Regions from separate parts of the Homo sapiens genome. Here regions 2, 3, 4, 5 and 6 are each linked to region 1. Evidence: promoter capture Hi-C in 16 types of primary human blood cells and fetal thymus (Javierre and others, 2016). All regions are on one chromosome and are shown on one strand. The core of a region is centred on a gene start or on the middle of the fragment in contact, and the rest is flanking DNA. Distances in the headings are between cores, read along the strand shown.

The links. Contacts are between HindIII fragments. The CHiCAGO score rates a contact against its expected background, and 5 or more counts as called.
Region 2: a fragment that was not itself captured here is called in contact with the fragment with the promoter of EPB41L5 in region 1 in 2 of 17 cell types (total CD4 T cells and fetal thymus); the score reaches 6.5 in total CD4 T cells.
Region 3: a contact is called between a fragment that was not itself captured here and the fragment with the promoter of EPB41L5 in region 1, in 3 of 17 cell types (total CD8 T cells, total CD4 T cells and non-activated CD4 T cells). The highest score is 5.9, in total CD8 T cells.
Region 4: a fragment that was not itself captured here is called in contact with the fragment with the promoter of EPB41L5 in region 1 in 3 of 17 cell types (total B cells, naive CD8 T cells and non-activated CD4 T cells); the score reaches 7.3 in total B cells.
Region 5: a contact is called between a fragment that was not itself captured here and the fragment with the promoter of EPB41L5 in region 1, in 3 of 17 cell types (total B cells, non-activated CD4 T cells and naive CD4 T cells). The highest score is 6.1, in total B cells.
Region 6: a contact is called between a fragment that was not itself captured here and the fragment with the promoter of EPB41L5 in region 1, in 10 of 17 cell types (total CD4 T cells, naive CD4 T cells, total CD8 T cells and 7 more). The highest score is 11.3, in total CD4 T cells.

The regions. Positions count from the first base shown.
Region 1 is chr2:120,011,584-120,014,742 of GRCh38, forward strand. EPB41L5 (erythrocyte membrane protein band 4.1 like 5) reads left to right here and starts at 1,494. Exons shown (of 25, transcript NM_020909.4): 1 at 1,494-1,627. It overlaps LOC107985817 (a long non-coding RNA gene), which reads left to right. Exons shown (of 4, transcript XR_001739205.2): 3 at 57-75; 4 at 810-1,121. RefSeq lists a silencer at 1,670-1,839. The HindIII fragment of the contact is 11,072 bases long and covers 1-3,159 here.
Region 2 is chr2:119,662,357-119,665,515 of GRCh38, forward strand. No RefSeq gene overlaps it. Among named protein-coding and RNA genes, the nearest start is that of TMEM177, 15 kb to the right of the region's middle. The HindIII fragment of the contact is 259 bases long and covers 1,495-1,753 here.
Region 3 is chr2:119,680,506-119,683,664 of GRCh38, forward strand. TMEM177 (transmembrane protein 177) reads left to right here. Exons shown (of 2, transcript NM_030577.3): 2 at 327-1,613. The coding sequence starts at 349. The coding sequence ends at 1,284. Among named protein-coding and RNA genes, the nearest start is that of TMEM177, 2.9 kb to the left of the region's middle. The HindIII fragment of the contact is 1,199 bases long and covers 1,103-2,301 here.
Region 4 is chr2:119,731,338-119,734,496 of GRCh38, forward strand. The region is part of intron 1 of LOC101927764 (a long non-coding RNA gene); the gene reads right to left. Among named protein-coding and RNA genes, the nearest start is that of PTPN4, 27 kb to the right of the region's middle. The HindIII fragment of the contact is 5,353 bases long and covers 1-3,159 here.
Region 5 is chr2:120,298,231-120,301,389 of GRCh38, forward strand. No RefSeq gene overlaps it. Among named protein-coding and RNA genes, the nearest start is that of INHBB, 46 kb to the right of the region's middle. The HindIII fragment of the contact is 2,162 bases long and covers 505-2,666 here.
Region 6 is chr2:119,747,708-119,750,866 of GRCh38, forward strand. All of the region lies in intron 1 of LOC101927764 (a long non-coding RNA gene), which reads right to left. Among named protein-coding and RNA genes, the nearest start is that of PTPN4, 11 kb to the right of the region's middle. The HindIII fragment of the contact is 3,071 bases long and covers 101-3,159 here.

The DNA of each region.
Region 1 (3,159 bases), core at 244-2,743:
GGCAGTGCCAAATCCCGAGAAGAAGCTCAATGAGTATTTGTCTCTTTTCATTTCAGCAAGCAGAGGGTCCTCAAGGTAACACCTTCCAGTGGCTCCCCCACCTCTCTCAGAGCTCTAGCCAGGGCCCACAAGGCCCTACATCTTACCCCTTTCCTCTCTGACTGTCACCTCCTCTTCCTCTTGCTTCCTCACTTCTAGCCACACTGGACTTCCTTGAAAAGACAGACCTGTCCCCTTGCAGGGCCTTTTGCCCTTGCTGTTCCCTTCGGTTCTCCCCAGATGGCCACAGGGTTCCTCCCACACCTCCTCTAGGTCTTCATTCAAATGCTACCTTTTTTTTTTTTTTTGAGACTGAGTCTGGCTTTGTCGCCAGGCTGGAGTGCAGTGGCGTGATCTGGGCTCACTGCAACTTCCGCCTCCCGGGTTCGAGCGATTCCCCTGCCTCAGCCTCCTGAGTAGCTGGGACTACAGTCGGACGCCACCAGGCTCAGCTAATTTTTGTATTTTTAGTGGAGACGGAGTTTCACAGTGTTGGCCAGGCTGGTCTCGATCTCCTGACCTCGTGATCCGCCCGCCTCGGCCTCCCAAAGTGTTGGGATTACAGGAGTGAGCCACCGCGCCCAGCCAAATGCCACCTTCTTATTGTGACCTGCTATGTAAAATCGCAAACCCTCACTGCCTGTGGTTATTCCCTACTTGTACTTTTCTTTTTAGCATTTACCAATGTCTGACAGTATTTAATTTCACTAATTTATCTCGTTTATTTTATGTCTCGTTTATATTCCTGCTATAACGTAAACTCCGGGAAGGATTTTTGTCTGTCTTGGTTGTCTGTCGTATCTCGTGTCTAGAACACAGAACTCACAGTAAGTAGGCACTTCAATCAATTACCTGTAGAATGAACGGACTGAATGTCACCTTGTTAGAGTACCCTCCTGACCACACTCTGCTAAGCAGTAATCTTTTATTTCTCTTTCCCAGTTTTATTTTTCCTCATTTACACTTAATCACCTTGTGACACCTATTTGTTTACTGTTTCCCCAGTAGAGTGAAAGTCACTTTAACAGCAGAGATTTAAATGTATTTTAATCCCTACAAAGGAGAAAAAGGGAGGAAATACGTGACAGGCTCTCAATAAGTATTTGCGAAGGATTTAATCTCTTGAACGAATGGATGAATGAATCTAGCAGCCAGCTCCACCAGCCTCCTTCGTGATAGGACTAACTGGGGTCTGTCTGCGGACGGGCGCCTCCTCCGCGGGCGGAGGGCCGCAGCGGGAACTGGGTTTCGGCAGCGCCCCTTTAAACCAGCCGCGGACGCCCGGCTGCTGGCGCTAGTTCCAGCCCGGCCGGGCCCGGCCTCGCCGGTTTCTCTCCAGTCGCCGCGCCGGCCAATTTCCGGGGCGGTGTCATCGCCCGTTTAAGAGCGGAGCGCTCCGCCCTGGGGGCGGAGCTGGGAGGGAGCTTTAAGGGGTGGACGGGCGGGAGGTCGGGGTCCTCCGGGGATTAGAGCCGGTGGGCTCGTTGTGGGCGCCATTTCTCGGCGTCTACCGAGGAGCCGCCCCTTTCTCAGCCTTGCTCGGCTCTTCCCCGCTCTGGTCGCCGGGGCTGCGCCGTCCCCAGCTCAGGTAAGCGCGAGGCCCGGCGGCGGCGCCGCAGTACAGTCCGCTGCGCTCCTAGCCGAGTGGACCCTTCCTCGCCCGCGCCTGCGGTAGCGGCCTTGTCCCCGGGGAGGCGGGCGGGGGCCGCACCCAGACCCTAGGGCGGCCGGCCCCTCTCTCGTCGGGCCGGCAGGGCATTAATCCCGCCGGAGGGAGGGGCGGCGGCGGCCAATGAGGCAGGGCCGCCGAGTTTCGGTCGATACCGCGCGACGGGCCGGGGCGGAGGGCCCGGGGCAGCCGGGTTAATGTTTGCCGAGCGGACGCGCTCCCCGAGCCGCGGGTACCCCTCGCTGGTCCGCTGGGCTGCCGTCCAGCGGGAGAGACAAAAGTCGCAAGGGAAGGGGAAAAACGAACTGAGTTTGTGTCACTGTCTTGGTGGACTTTTCGAGCTAACCTGTATTTGAGAAAAACTTCAGTCTCTTGGGAAAGGAGAGGCAGGTGTGTTCCCATGAAAGACGAGGTCTGAAGGTCCCGCCCCGCCCCCACCCGGGACGGTTGTCGTGCTAATGATGGGTTCTTTGGTGTGTAAATGTTAATTGTGTCTGTGGTTACTCGAATTCTACCTAAGAGCGAGACCCAACTCTTAAAACGTTTGGCAATATTTTAGACTAATATTAAAAGTTTTTAAAGAATTACGGGGAAAATTCCCATAACCGTGTACATTTGTAATGTAACCCACAACTGCATTAACTCAGTTTCTAACATAACCCGTTGCTGAGCTCTAGTTAACCTTGTTGGATTATTTGTGCATGTAATATGCTGTGCAGGCTTTAGAAAATAGGTTAACATTATTCGAAAACGATATGCGTAACTGCTGTTGAATTACTCGCTTGCATTTTCTTTATTGGGAATACTGGGACAAAATATAGTGTTACCTTAAATGGCATTTGCTGTATGTTATATTGCTTTATCAAAAAGCAATTAACCAACCATATTGTGGCCACCAGTCATGTAAGAGTATACATATTTCATGACTAACTTTTGGGTTTTGGGTACTTTTTTTAACCAACTTCTGATAGGATTGCTTAAATTTGCATTTTATGATTCTAAAGGAAATCCTTCTAGTTAGGAACTAGAGTAGAAACTACTGTTTTTTGGAAGCCACATAAACCTACCATCCAAAAATTCCACTGTGTCATTCTAGTGTGTCAGGCGAGATGCGGGTTAAGCCAGCTGTTGGGCCAAAGTAGTGAACAAGCCAGACGAAGTCTTTGTCCTTGTGTGTGAGTGGGGGAAGTAGTCAGTAAAAAAGATAATAATTAACAGATATTTAATTACAATTTCTTTGTTATAAAGAAAAGGCTAAGAGTACTGAAAGAGATGTCGAATTTAGACTCACAAGTCTGAGATTGCTTTTCTGAGAATAAGACATTTCAACTATAAGTCTGAAGTTAGTCCAGTGAAATGGGAGCGGGTGGAAGAGAGGTCAACTGGAAAAAGAGCAATCCAGAAAGGTGGAACAGCTAATGAAAAATGGTCCAGAATTAAAAAGACTCTCC
Region 2 (3,159 bases), core at 374-2,873, 350 kb before region 1:
GAACATCCGAGATGGAAGGACATGGAATGTCGTCTAGCCCCACCCTGGTAAGTATTGGTGGAATCTCTGTAAATTTATCAAGTCCATGCAGTTTCCTTGCTTTTTATTAAAGAAGGGGAAGTAACAGTATTGACGTCATAGAATTGTTGTGAGGTTAAATGAGATCATCCTGGTAGCACAATGCACAATAAATACACAATAAATATTAGCTGTTATTAGGATCACAATATTTATTTGTTAAGGGAGTGAAGCTGAGTCCTCACTCACCACTGCATCTTCTTCAGTTATCCTTTCTACCCTCCACCCATTCATCTCCTGTGCTCCAATAGCTATGTTGGGATCTATGCATGAAAGAGAACTCTCCAGATGGTGAAGGAGATGGAGCATTGCACTAAAGAACACTAGGCCAGGCGTGGTGGCTCACAGTCTGAAGTGCCTTAGCACTTTGGGAGGCTAAGGCAGGAGCATCGCTTGAGCCCAGGAGTTTGAGACCAGCCTGGGCAACATAGTGAGACTTCGTCTCTACAAAAAAATTAATTAGCCAAGCATGGTGGCACGTGCTTGCAGTCCCAGCTACCCAAGAGGCTGAAGTAGAAAAACTGCTTGAACTCACGAGGTCAAGGCTGCAGTGAGCCATTATCGCCACACCACTGCACTCTAGCCTGGGTGACAGAGTTAGACTCTTTCTCAAAACACACACACACACACACACACACACACACACACACAAAGTCTCTCTCTTCCAGCAGGGTTTTGAGGATGGGTTTCGGTAAATGTTTAAAGAGTGGAGATGATTAGAGTATGGACTCCCTGAAGGTAGGGGAATGGACTTGGCCCAGGGCTACTCATGTCTCTTCCAAAGATATGGAGACATCCCTCTCAGGTCTCTTTGCCCAAACCATGCAGCCTTCCCTTTTGGATTAAGACCACTGGCCTCCTGCTCTCTCTCACTAGATGGCATCACAGAGAGGTGTTTCAACATGAAGGCAAGGAGACCTACCTCTCCTGGAGGACATCTTGCAGGAGGCCTGGGAGCACCAAGAAAATGGGCAGCCCCTTACCGTGAGGGAGAGCCACAGCACCCCTCCCCTTCCTCCTCACCATGAGCCCCATCAGAGCAAGCCAGGCAGGCCAGAAACTGATAGTCTGGCATTACAAGACAGGCTGAGCTTACCTTATCCCTTCTTTCAGGAATTTAGACCAGGAAGTAGAGAGAGACCAAGCAAGTTAGCAACAAGGACAGAAGCTGGACAGTTATAAAATGGAGAAATTGGGCGGGGCAGCTGCGATGGGCCATGAGTGACTGAAGTTGTAGGCAAAGAAGAAGTGGGTTTTTGGTGTTTGGAAAACACGAGGAAAAAAGTAGATGCACCAAGAGATAGCAAGAAGCAAGCTGGGATAGAACCCAAGCACACCCATTGCTGAGTTCCTGCCCCCGTTCCCAGCCAGCCCCTGGAACAGGGCCCAACCTGAAAACCACCTCTGTCCTGAAAAAGCTTAAGTGACTCTGCTTCTTACCACCAAAAAGCCTGATCAGATCTTGGCCAAGGCATGGACCCAGGGGTCTGGTGACCCATTCTCTAAAAGTGGTGTGTTCTTAGAAAAGTATTTCATTTCTGATACTCTGTTTACAGGAAGTTTGTTAAAACCACTGTGAAAAGACTTTTCAAGGAAGCAATGCACTTTGAGGTGTATATATAAGGTAGTCAAAGAATGCTTATCCCTCCCACACACCCCCATAACCAATAGTGCAAGCTTTACACATACACACACACACACACACACACACAAATACATATACACACACAGAGTGTGTGCCCTGTCTCAGGTCCAGCTGTCAATATCTCAAAAGCTAGAGGCCCACCAAATGTGGGGTGCTTTTTTTGTGCTTACTGTCCCTGGTGGTGGAAGTTGACCTCATTTGAGGCTGAATCTAGGGACAGGCTACTCCCAAGCTCACCACTGCCTGAAGCTCCAAGCTGGCCATCCTTGGGGTGCCAATGGATCTGTTATGCACCCAAACCTCCCCACCCCCCACCTTCCAGAAGTCCTCACCCCTGCTTCAGGCTGAGGTGCCCTTCTTCTTCAACAAGAAGAGCTAGCTATTCTAAATATATATGCACCCAATACAGGAGCACCCAGATTCATAAAACAAGTTCTTAGAGACCTGTGAAGAGACTTAGACTCCCACGCAATAATAGGGGGAGACATTAACATCTCACTGTCAGTACTAGACAGATCTATGAGACAGAAAATTAACAAGGCTAATCAGGACTTGAACTCAGCTTTGGATCAAGTGGACCTAGTAGACATCTACAGAACTCTCTACTCAAATCAACAGAATATACATTCTTCTCAGTGCCACATGGTACTTATTCTAAAATCGACCACATAACTGGAAGTAAAACCCTCCTCAGCAAATGCGAAAGAACTGAAATCATAACAAACAGTCTCTCAGGCCACAGGGCAATCAAATTAGAACTCAGGATTAAGAAACTCACTCAAAACCACACAATTACCTGGAGATTGAACAACCTGCTCCTGAATGACTCCTGGGTGAATCATGAAATTAAGGCAGATATCAAGAATTTCTTTGAAACCAACGAGAACAAAGAGACAACATACCAGCTTCTCTGGGACACAGCTAAAGCAGTGTGAAGAGGGAAATTTATAGCACTAAATGCTCACATCAGAAAGCTTGAAATATCTCAAATTGACACCCTAATATCACAATTAAAAGAGCTAGAGAGGCAAGAACAAATTAATCCAAAAGCTAGCATAAGACAAGAAATAACTAAGATCGGAGAAAAATTGAAGGAGATAGAGACATGAAAAACCCTCCAAAAAATAAATGAATCCAGTAACTGTTTTTTTTAAATTAACAAAATAGACCACTTTAGACTAACAAAGAAGAAAAGAGAGAAGAATCAAATAGACACAATAAAAAATTACAAAGGGAATATCACCACTGACCCCACAGAAATACAAACTACCATCAGAGAATACTATAAACACCTCCACGCAAATAAACTAGAAAATCTGGAAGAAATGGATAAATTCCTGGACACATACACTCTCCCAAGACTACACTAGGAAGAAGTCGAATCCTTGAATAGACCAATAACAAGTTCTAAAAGTAAGGCAGTAATTAATAGCCTA
Region 3 (3,159 bases), core at 452-2,951, 330 kb before region 1:
CGATGGGAATAAAAGTCATTACAGCCATTATTATAAGGAATATCTGCTGCTGTGCCAGACACTAAATGTTTTATGTATGTTTATTCATGTGCTCATCACCGCCACCCTAGAGGTGGGCCATTACGACACACCTGTTTGGCACATGGGGAAATTGACGCACAGAGACGGAGCTGGGATTTGAACACAGGCACTCTGGCTCTAGAGCCCACACTCTTCACCACTATGCTGTGTTACTTTGGTTTAAAAAGGTGGTGTGGACCCTGGAGGATGTTCAGTCTGCAGGCTGACCCAGGGAAACTGGCTGACTTCTCTTTTTCTTGGCCCAGATTGTCCGCAGTGACTACACTCATGGCAGGTCCCCTGTGGCGGACCGCAGCATTTGTGCAGAGACACAGGACAGGCCTCTTGGTGGGTTCCTGTGCAGGCCTGTTTGGAGTTCCAATCTCGTACCACCTCTTCCCGGATCCCGTGGTCCAATGGCTCTACCAGTACTGGCCTCAGGGCCAGCCAGCTCCGCTCCCTCCACAGCTGCAGAGCCTCTTCCAAGAGGTGCTACAGGACATAGGTGTTCCTTCAGGCCATTGCTACAAGCCCTTCACCACCTTCACCTTCCAACCTGTGAGTGCAGGCTTCCCAAGACTCCCTGCTGGGGCTGTGGTGGGCATCCCTGCCAGTTTCTTGGGAGACCTAGTGATCAACACTAACCATCCCGTGGTCATACATGGGCATACAGTGGACTGGCGGAGCCCAGCAGGCGCCCGGCTGAGAGCTTCCCTGACCTTGTCCCGTGAAGCCCAGAAGTTCGCCTTGGCCAGGGAAGTGGTGTACCTGGAAAGCAGTACCACTGCCGTGCACGCCCTGCTGGCCCCAGCTTGCCTGGCAGGGACCTGGGCACTGGGCGTGGGTGCCAAGTACACCCTGGGGCTCCATGCAGGCCCCATGAATTTACGGGCTGCCTTCAGCTTGGTGGCAGCAGTGGCAGGCTTTGTGGCCTACGCCTTCTCCCAGGATTCTCTCACTCATGCCGTGGAGTCCTGGCTGGACCGCCGCACGGCCTCCCTCTCTGCAGCCTATGCCTGTGGTGGAGTGGAGTTCTATGAGAAGCTTCTGTCGGGCAACCTGGCCCTGCGCAGTCTCTTGGGCAAAGACGGGGAGAAGCTGTATACACCCAGCGGGAACATCGTCCCCAGACACTTGTTCCGAATCAAACATTTACCCTACACCACCCGCCGGGACTCTGTGCTGCAGATGTGGAGGGGGATGCTCAATCCGGGCCGCTCCTGATGGGCTCATCACAAGGACACTTCCAGCTTGTGCAGACACCACCCTGCCATTGAGTCTGGAGGGCCCTGTTGGAGCCTTTGGACCTATAGCTCACGGCCAGAAAAATCACTGGCTTTGGAATTAAATAGCTTAGATTGTACTATAACCACTACTTATGAACTCAGGGACTATGAGGGACTATTCAGGGGCTATGAATCTGAGCCTTTGTTTCTTGAACTGTAAAGTGGAGATGATGTAAACCGCCTTGCAAGATTGTAGAGTTGGGTAAGGTCATGAACATAAGGGCCTGGCACAAAGGGTGCACTGTAAATAAACAGACATCCCTCCTTCTTGGTCGTTTTTTTTTTTTTTTTGAGAGCATCTCACTCTGTTGCCCGGGATGGACTGCAGTGGTGACCATAGCTCACTGCAGCCTCAAACTCCTGGGCTCAAGTGATCCACCCTCCTCAGGCTCTCAAAGTGCTGGAATTACAGGCGTGAGCCACCTCGCCCAGCCTCCTTCTTGGTCTTGAGTGCCACCAGGCTGTGGGAGTCAGGGCACACCTCAACACCAGGGTACTAGCAGTTATGTGAACACTTTCCTACAGTGAAGAACCACCCCTCAATTTAAGTGGTGGTCAAATCCCAATTTTCCTCCACTCTGTTAGAGGTTAAAAGACTAGAGAGCCCAAGATGAGAAGTTAGTGTGGTCCTGAGAGGCTGTTTTAAGGTGAGGGGGCCTTAAGAGTGTTGTGTCAGTCAAGGTCCCGTGGATGCAGATGGCACACTCAGGGAGAAGGAGACCAGCACGTGCCAGGAGAGTCCCTGGACCTGAGGGGAGGGGAGGTGTTCCAGAACTCCGAGATCTGTGGCATGGGAGACTTGGCAAGAGCTTCACTCAAATGTAGAGGAAGGAACAAACCATTGTAAGACCGAGGCCCTGCAGGGAGGGAGCCCACTGGCGCCATCCAGAGCTGTCAGCCTCCCCAGGCACAGCGTGGCCAGGGCTTGGAGAGGAGAGGCAGCAAGGTGGGGGTAAGCTTGGCTCGTAGGGGTCAGCAAGGAGAGCAGAGGGGTGGAGGTGGGCAGTGGGTTAGGCCTGGTCCCACTCAGGACCCAGGGGAGACTGCAGCCCTGCCCTGCTTATTTCCCTTGAGCCCTCCGGTGGTGGATGGAGCCGGGCCCCTGGGTTAGATCCTTGGACAGGACCACAGCAGGGCAAGGTGAGGAGAGTTGTGATCAGGGAGCCAGACCCAATTTGGCTTCATGACATCTTTTAGTTGGAGATGAGGTTTTCCCTGGGAAAGTATTTGAACACAGTGGTGGCAGGTCCTGGCAGTAGACCTGGAGAGGAGAGTGAGCCAGTGGGGCTGCAGAATGCAGTGGGAATGGCACACCTCCCTGCTGGGCCCCTCACTGTGGGCTGGAGCTCAGTGTGCTGGGCCAGCTCACGGGTCCTCACACTGGACCTGAACAGGCTGAGTTCCTGAGGGCAGCACATCCTTGCTCATTCCCCAGGCCCTGGTACCTAGGACGGCACTGGGCACGGGCTTGGAATACATAGGTGGATAGATGAGGCAGTGGCTGGGTGAACCAGTCTTCACTCAGGGACACACCATTTCATGGGGCCCCTTGGGGTGTCACCCACCTGCTGCTGCTGTACTTAAAGGGCCACAAGGCCATGTGAGGCCACCTCATTCCTGAGCAGTACGGTCTGGGGCCTGGATTTGATGGGCTCCACTTTCTCACCACTCCCACCCCCAACCCATCTGCTCTCAGTACTGCAGGAGCCATGATGGTTTCAGGCATTCCTGCTGATCTGCCCGAACCATTAGCGAAGGCAGCCTCACGATGGGGAGAAAAGGCTGCTTACTCAGCTCCCTCTGCTCCAAGTCA
Region 4 (3,159 bases), core at 377-2,876, 280 kb before region 1:
TGTGACTCAGTTAAAGACTTTGAGATGGGGGGACTACTCGGGGTTGTTCAGGTGGGTCCAATCTAATCACACGAGTCCTTAAAAGTAGAGAACCAGCCAGGCGCGTGGCTCATGCCTGTAATCCCAGCACTTTGGGAGGCCAAGGCGGGTGGCTTGCTTGCTGGTCATGTAGACCAGCCTGGCCAACATGGTGAAACCCCATCTCTACTAAAATACACAAATTAGCTGGGCGTGGTGGCGGGTGCCTGTAGTCCCAGCTACTAGGGAGGCTGAGGCAGGAGAACTGCTTGAACCCAGGAGGCGGAGGTTGCAGTGAGCCCAGATGACGTGACTGCACTCCAGCCTGGGCGACAGAGCAAGACTCCGTTCCAAAACAAACAAAAAAAAGTAGAGAACCTTCCCCACTCATGGTCTGAGAGAGAGAGAGAGGTGAAAACTGAGGAAAGGTAGAGAGGTGGCAGCATGAGGAGGAGCCCTGCTGCTGGTTCTGGGATATCAGGGTTCATAGACAAGGATAAGAGAGAGGCCTCCAGGGGGGAGCTAAGGGATCCCCCCCAGTGACAGCCAACAAGGAAATGGGGACTTCAGTCCCACAACCTTGTCGAACTGAATTCTGCCAACTGACAAGAAAATGCATTCTCCCCTAGAATCTCCAGAAAAGAATGCATTCTTGTGTCCAAGTGAGGCTCATGTCTGACCTGCAGAACTGTATAATGATAAATTATGTTGTTTGAAACCGCTACATTTGCGGTAATTTGTTACAGCAGCAATAGAAAACGAATCCCCTGCCCAGAATGACTTCCTCCTTTCCTGTCGGACGAAGGCTCAGGCCTTCTGCTGAAAGCTCGCTCCCCTAAGTAGTCACACCCAATGCCGAATACTCCCCAGAAGCAGCTGCTATTTTCTGAGGACAATGAGTTGCTTGTAAGCCTGAGAACAGGACGAAAACCCACTTTGCAAGCAGCCCTGCGTGTGACGGGCATGCCCTCGGAGGGCAGGTTGGTTTTGCTATCTGCTTTCTGTCCTGCCTTTTTCCCCCCATGGGTCCTGTCTGGCTCTTTTGCTTTCTCACTTTGTGCAGAAAGCCATCTCAACTCTTCTCACAGGAGAATAGCTGTATGGACGTAGCAGGGGGAGTTACCACATGCCTACCTCCATGGTTTTCGAGAGGGGCCCCTGCCCAAATGTCTCAGTGGCCACCTTCATCAGACCATGGAGCAGTCAGAGCGGGAAGGGATTCTAGAGTTGGTCCAGTCCAACCATCTCATCTTACATGTGAAGGAGGAAAGGAAGAAAGGGAGAAAAATAAGAAAGCTGAGGTCAACCCTCCTACAGGGATGGGCCTGGCCAACAGGATCCCAAGGGATGACATAACATTGAAATTAAGAAACCAAGGAAAGTTGAGAACTAAAGAAAACAGAACCCAGTCAGCCAAGAGGCATCCTTGAGGGCCAACCAAGCCGTCAAACCTGGATGCCCCCGACAAGTCAGAAAGTCGGGTGCCTCAAGAGCCAAGCAGCCAAGAAATGGGGTCTGGAACTGGCACTTTGGTCCGCCTCTGTGCACTCACCCAGAAAGGGTGGAAGGGACCCTGGGACCAAGTGCCAAGGTCACACAACGGATGAATAGAGCTGCTGGACTTCAAACTGAACCATGCCATTTTGCCAAAGCAGTCATCACCTTCCGTGAATCATAAATGTTTGTTCAAAGCCACAAATGTATATACTCTTTGTATGTATACAGATTTTTTCTAAAGGTTAACATCTAAACAGATCAATTAAGGTCAGCCTTAATTTGTCTGAGCTTTTTGGTTAAAGTTTCCTGAGTAATTGAGCGAATTCAAGTTTCTGGCTTTCTCCTTTTTCTTTCTCCATTTAAAACATGATCTCATGAAATTTTTGTCCCAAGAAAGGCAGGATTACATTTTCTTTTAACAGTTTGAGTTGGTGTAGTGTATTCTTGGTTATCAGAATACTCATATAGCTTTAGGATTTTGAATTGGTAAATATTCATGATGTGTGAAAAATCATGATACATACTGTACAATCTCAGTGCCATAAAATTGGATGTTGTGCCTACACACGCACAGGACCTAGAAGAGCATGTCAAACTATAAACTGCCTGTGATTGTGAATGACTTTGTTCTTTGCTTCTTGCGTTTTTCAGTTTCCTATAATGCACATCTTAACTTTTAAAAAATAAAGGTTATTTTAAAAGCCAAAAAGAAAAAAAAAGATCTCTAACCTGTTGGCTGGTTAAAATTTGAGAAAATTAGACAAATGCTTACTTTTCCCTTTTTGGCTGACAAACAAAAGCCCAGTGAGGTATCCTCATCTGTAGAGATTTATGTCCTTTGTGGGGGGCCTGCTTCTCCCTCAAGATAGAGTAAAAAAAAAATCAGTGGTGTCACTTGGGCTCAAAAGGACAGAAGACTTGACACTGGAGTTTGAGGGTCCCAGAGGGGCTCAGCCACATAGACCTTCCTGCCCCACCCTTCCTACCACAGCCCTTTTTAGGAGCTGCCCCTACCCCCACAAGACTGTCCTTTGTTGCTGAACTATTAATTACTTAAATAGTCATTGATCACCTACCCTTTGCTAGGCCCAGGAGTCCTGTGAGATGGGCTCTTCCCTTAGTCCTCATTCCCACTGGCTATTGACACCATCCCCCGCTACACCCCCAATTCTACTATCCCCTTCCAGCCCGACACAGGACTTGCCTCTCTGAGCCTCTGACCTCTGCTTTCTCCCAGCATCTATTTTGGTTCTTCCTCCTTGGCTCAGTAAGTACATGGACAATCCCAGACCAGCCTTAAAGGCAGCCACCCCCCATGTTGGCCTCAGCCTCAGGGGCAGGGGAGGATCCTGGCCTACAAATCATGCACTCAGAGCTACAGTCCAGTCTCTGCAAGGACTGGCAGCAGACGGCGCTCACCCTGGGAGACCGAGTCCAGACACCTGTTCCCTGGCACAGCAGAAGCCCTCCACCCAGGCCCTGGAATGACAGCCCTGACTGATCTCCTGAAAGTGAGCTCTCCTGAAAGTGAGCTCAGGCTGTCCATCTTCCCTGAAGTCCAGTCCATCCCTTGCAAAGCCAGTTTCCGCTATCCCATCATGATTAATGCTGAAGCTCTCTTTCCAACCTTTGAAATGCCTTTTC
Region 5 (3,159 bases), core at 336-2,835, 290 kb after region 1:
GATCAAATTGGTGCAGCCCTCCCTGGTTGTCCCTTTGCAGTGGGGGCCCTGGCTTTTCCCTCTCTCCCGTTATCGGGGCCTTCTCCTTATCTGCAGGGTCTGAAATGAACACAGCTGTGGATCTTAAGTGTGGCTGTTTTGTGACTCATCCTGCTTGGTAGTCGGCAGAGGCTTCCAATGAAGACTCCTGCCTCTTCAGCTCTAGAAAAAGTATTTTTGAAATTCTTTGATCGCTTCTGTTTTCTCCTTCCAGAGCTCCTGTTACCACCTTTGGAACCTCCTAGATTCATGTCTGCTCCATCCATTTCCTATATTTTCCATCTTTATTTTCTCTCAAATTTATCCTCCCTCCCTGTGTTTTTCCAAGCACTTTGCCAAGCACTGTTGTAAGTTCTTGAGATAGAGCAGTGAGCAAAACAGACAAATTCCTTGCCCTTTGGAAGCTTACACTAGTGGGATCAACTTTGTCTTCTCACTTGCTCACCGTGTGTATGTGTGAACAAAAGCTTTCTTTGTCTTTATTTGTTCCTTTTTCATAGCAACTGTTCTTGGCGGCCTTACGGATTCAATATCTTGACTTTTGAAGGATATTAGATCTTTTGAAAGTTGTATTTTTATTCACTTTTTCTTCTTTATTTTTTAAGCTGCAGTTTTTCTCACGTATCTAATGATTCCTGCTTGTCCAGCCATATTCTTAGGAGGAAATAGAAAGTCGGCCAGGAGTTCCATGTACATGAGTGGGGCTTGTGAAATAGCAGGCTTGACTTTGGGGTGAATGGGTAGAAAACCAGTCATAGTGCTGGGAACCCCTAATGCCTAATCGAGGGAAGGTGTGCTCTGGGGGCCATTGGCCAGGCTGGATGCCTTGGTTCACTCCAGGCAGTTTCTTCCAAGAGAAAAGCACTGGTGATGGACAGAGCTGCCTGCAGGGGTGGGGTGGACCGTGTCCCACACAGACCTCTACCTAGGCTCTCTAGCCACGCACCGTGGTTCTGCTGCTCCATCTGCCGGTTCAGACTGAGCCGGTCCTGTTGCCCTCATCTCAACAGATCCTTCCTTATCGAACGGCTCACGTCTGGGTTTCAGCTTCTGTAAATTTGTCAGATTCACACATCAGCTAGTGACCCTTCCATTCTCTTTGCCCTTTGGGTTTTTTAAATACTATTATTTGAAGAGAGGCTTCAGGGGAGACTAACTTTTGGGCTCAGCTTTCCATTTTGCCCTGGTTTCATTGTCACAAATACTTAAAATTTCCTTTTTTTGCAGATCAATGTTAAATAAAGATTAGAGTGAACACATTGATTTGACTTTATGCAGGGGTCATTTTGAACTTGAGGGCCTATGGCAATCTCTGTTCTCCAGGAGTATGGACCTCAGCATTTGGGGTCAGACCTGGGTCTGGCCAGTTGTCTTTATTTAATTTTTGAGACAGGGTCCTGCTTGGCCACCCACGGTGGAATGCAGTAGTGCAATCATGACTCACTGCAGTCTTGAACTCCTGGGCTCAAGCAATCCTTCCGTCTCAGTCTCCACAGTAGCTGGGAATACAGATGCACGCCACCATGCCTGGCTAATTTTTAAATGCTTTTGCAGAGATGGGGTCTTGCTATGTTGCCAGACTGGTCTTGAACTCCTGGGCTAAAGCGTTCTGCCTGCCTTGGCCTCCCAAAGCGCTGGGATTACAGGTGTGAGCCACCATGACCGGCCTGGTCAGTTGTCTTCTGATACCAACTTTCAAGTGAGGGAATTGTGAGTTTTCACTAAGCCTGTGTTGATTTCACTTATATGTTTTGCTTTTACCTCTTGGTGATCAGTTTATTACCTGTGCAGGTAACAACCTGAACTGCCCGTGTGGAGTAGTACATCCTTTGTCTTATCTTTTTTGAAATGTAGCTGACTTGGGATGTTCTCTTGTTTTTATATGGTCAACAAATCTAAGTTAATTTACCTGTGCTGTTAGCGGTTTTGTAGATTTTTTGTTCTCAGGTTTGGGACGATCCTGCTTGCCAGCTGCAGTTGGTGAGTTACCTGCTCCTTGGTGATGCTGCTTTTTAAAATGCATATTGTCAGTGCAGACTTCCTGATTTCCTTTTGTAAGTTGCTACACGAGGCCCGCTTTGAGGACTTTTTAGAAAGGATGTAGTACAAGTTTTAAAACTAATTTGGGCCCTTGGGTTTAAGGCTGTTCTTCTCTATTTGAGTAGATATGAATGAAAAAAGAGACTTCCTCCAACACCCTTCCGCCCCAGCCTTTGTCTAATTCAAGTGCTAGAGCTTGTCCTGACACACCGCAGCTTGCTGTTCATTTCTACTTGTTCAGTTGTGTGCCACCAAGCTAGACGTGTTCAGTCACACTGACAGTACTGTCAGGATGATTCATTGCCACACACGTAGCTCAAGTCGGAATGGGGCCTCTGGTCGTGTCTGAGAAGCACAGAAACCTGGCTAAGCTGAGGATTCGGCCTCCCACCCAGGTTGGTGAAGGTGCTGCGGCCTGGGAGCAGGAACGGAGCCCCCAGCTGCCAGGAGTGTGAAGCTGCTTCTCCGCAGTGCAGCCTCCACAAGCCTTCTCAGGTGGCAGTGAAGAAGGACCAGATACCTAAACAGTTTTCAAGTTCCGGAATCCTTGGGAAAGTTAGTGTCCATCAACTTCACATGTTAAAACAAGCTTACGGCTGGGCGCGGTGGCTCACACCTGTAATCCCAGCACTTTGGGAGGCTGAGGCGGGTGGATCATGAGGTCAGGCGATCGAGACCATCCTGGCTAACACAGTGAAACCCCGTCTCTACTAAAAATACAAAAAAAAATTAGCCGGGCGTGGTGGCGGGCGCCTGTAGTCCCAGCTACTCAGGAGGCTGAGGCAGGAGAATGGTGTGAACCCGGGAGGCGGAGCTTGCAGTGAGCTGAGATTGCGCCACTGCACTCCAGCCTGGGCGTCAGAGCCAGACTCTGTCTCAAAACAACAACAACAACAACAACAACAACAACAACAACAAACCAAGCTTACTTATTTCTAGTAGTTAAAAACATCTCAAGGTGAGTGTTGCACAGGAATCAAAGGGATGAGCTGGTTAACTTCTTATGGGCTAAGTCATCAGTTACTTCTTGTGTATTTTCAGTAGTTGCAGCTGGGAAAGTTTTCCTAAAATCTGATTTAT
Region 6 (3,159 bases), core at 386-2,885, 260 kb before region 1:
ATGAGCATCTCTTGAAGAAAGAAAGGGAGGAGGATGAGAGGGAAAGAAGGAAGGAAAGAAAGAAAGAGGCTGCTAAGACCAAGTGCTAGGCAGCCAAAAAAGCTTTGGGGGTTGCTTCAATAGAATACACAGGACAAGAATGTACATGCAGGTGCACTGGGATAATGCTTCAGCAGGGTGACAAATACACACACACACATGGACACAGGCATATACAGACACATTGACTTATACAGATATACACATAGGTACATGTATGGTAGCCAGCCTCCACGATGGTCCTAATCCTTGCCTCCTGGTATTTACACCCTTATGTCATTCTCTCCTACAATGTATATGTCTGACTTGTGTAACAAATAGAATATTGTAGGCATGATGGTGAGTTCCAAGGCTAGGGCGTAAAAACTTATGGAGGCTTCCACCTTGCCCTCTCCGGGATCACCTTCTCTGCAGGAAGCCAGCCCTCATGTTGTGAGAACACTCAAACAGCACTATGGAGAATTTCACCTTCCAACTGGCCAGCCATGCGGTGAGCCATCTCAAAAACAGATCCTCCAGCCCCATTCTGGCCTTCAGCTCCAGATGATAGCAGCCCTGGCCACAACTTTACAGCAGACCTTAAGCCAGAACCGCCCAGCTAAGCTACTCTCGCTTTCCCAACCCACAGAAGCTGTGAGGTAACAGTTTACTGGGGTTTTATGCCAAAGGAACTTGCTAAGCAGCAATAGACAACTAATATAAACTATATACACACATAACTTTCCATATATATAATTTATAATACAATGCATATATAGTTTTTCATAATTATCAAAATAATGTGGATTTCCTGGAGAAATTTATGAGATAAGTACTATCATGATTCCCATTTTAATTGACAGGGAAACTGAAACACAGACAGTTCAAGTACTTAATCTAAGCAGTAAGTAGAGGAGACAGAATTTGATCTCAGGAAATCTGAGCTTATCACTATCTTATAGGATGGCACACTCTGGCTGACATTTTGTTGTATTTCCCTTCAGTCTTTTAAAAATACAGTTTAAAAAAATTACTAGACTTTATTTTCTAGAGCACTTTTAGGTTTGCAGAAAAATTGAGCAGAAAGTACAAAGAGTTCCCATACATTCCCTCTCCCCTCCCCTTTCACCTGGTTTCCCCTGTTGTTAACATCAGGCATTAGTGTGGTGTGTTTGTTACAACTGAGGAGCTGATATTGATGCATTAAGTTTGAGCTGGCATTAGGTTTCACTGTGTTGTACATTCAATGGGTTTTAACAAATGCATACGGATGTGTATCCACTATTATTGTATCATACAGAATAATTTCCTGCCTTCAAAATCCCGTGCTGCACCTGTTCATCCCTCCCTATGCATGCCATTCTTAAGCAGAGCTAATACTACATATACTAATTTTGCAGTTTTTAAATTAATATTGCATAAGTATTTTTTCATGTCAGTAAAACTTATAAGCATTATTTGTAATACTTGAATACCATTCTATGTGTGCATGGCTAAACCATAGCTCAATTTATTTATTCCCTTTTGTTGGGCATCAGAATTGTTCTCCCAGGACTCTTTTTTTTAAGTCCTGGGATGGAGGACCCTTGACAATTCAACTCAGCATCCTTAATGTAAGTGTGCATTTGTCTAAGGATGTATGTGTCAGCTTTAGCAAGTAGGTACAACTGCTGCAATTCCAACATCCTTAACCTGGCTCTGTCAGAAACTTGGAAACTATTGATTCTGTAAGTTATTTCTAGCCTGCCAGAGCACTTGTACTTATTCTCTCTCCCCCCAACCCCAACTTGGCTTTTAGAATAAGTTTTCATCAGTTCCCAAGAAATGAATCATTGTGAATACAAAATGACTAAGAGCATTTCTTTGGACCCTACACCCCACAACAGACACAGGCTGACCCCCTTGATGCGCTTCCAGGATTAACAAGGATCTGAGAACAAGCAGTATAGAAGTAGGGGCAATAAAGGAAATTGATGTTCTCTGAGATTGATTTGTCAAATATTATGTATATCTTTTGCCTGTTCCCAAATTCCTTCACTTAATTCTAAATTTGATTTTAACAGCCTACAAATTCCTGTTGGATTAAATCTTTATGACTCATCTGTACTTTCAAGTTCCTGTAATTGAAAATTCCATTTATATGTGATTTTCTTATTATTATAGTATCTTCTTTTGCACACCAGAGGACACCTGGGTGTGTATTTCAGGAAGGTATATAGACCTGTTTGGACTGGCCTAATAGTCAGATTGTCATCAATAAGAAGGAATGAGGCACACAAAATTTAAGCCTCACATTTAAGCCTTGCCCTGCCCTCCACCTACAACTCTCTCTCTGTCTCTCTTTCTCTCTCTCTCTCTCTGAAACCTGATGCTCAGATAGAAAGTTGGGTTCTAGGCCAGACGCGGTGGCTCACGCCTGTAATCCCAGCACTTTGGGAGGCCAAGATGTGCAGATCACGAGGTCAGGAGATCGAGACCATCCTGGCTAACATGGTGAAACCTCATCTCTACTAAAAATACAAAAAAATTAGCCAGGCGTGGTGGCGGGTGCCTGTAGTCCCAGCTACTTGGGAGGCTGAGGCAGGAGAATCGCTTGAACCTGGGAGGCAGAGCTTGCAGTGAGCCGAGATCGCGCCACTGCACTCCAGCCTGGCAGCAGAGTGCGACTCTGTCTCAAAAAAAAAAAAAAGTTGGGTTCGAAACTGTGTGACTTCGATAATCCTTAGTGCTAGTATTGACAGGAGAAGAACCTAAAGTAGTTAGAAACTAGAAGTGGTAAACTTGAACCAGCAACTGCAAGACTTTGTAAGTCACTGATTTTGATGAAAGAGACATTTGTCTCACTCATAATGGGCAGTTTGTCTTTTAATTCTGAGAAAGTTAACCTAAAAAGAGTGAAGCACAACCTTAATTTTTGTTTTAATGTGTTCCCGGAAATTCAGATTGAAGAATAAAAATGTATATAACTTGCTGAATGCCTACAATATAATTTAGATAACTTAGTTGGTTTTTCCAGTGAAAATTATTAGGCCACAGTAAAATGCTGGGTTAACCTGTCAACATTCAGTAGAAAATTCAGGAACTATAATAAATAGGGGGCCCAACAGCCTTTACTGAAAATTAATACAAATTTTAGTCAAG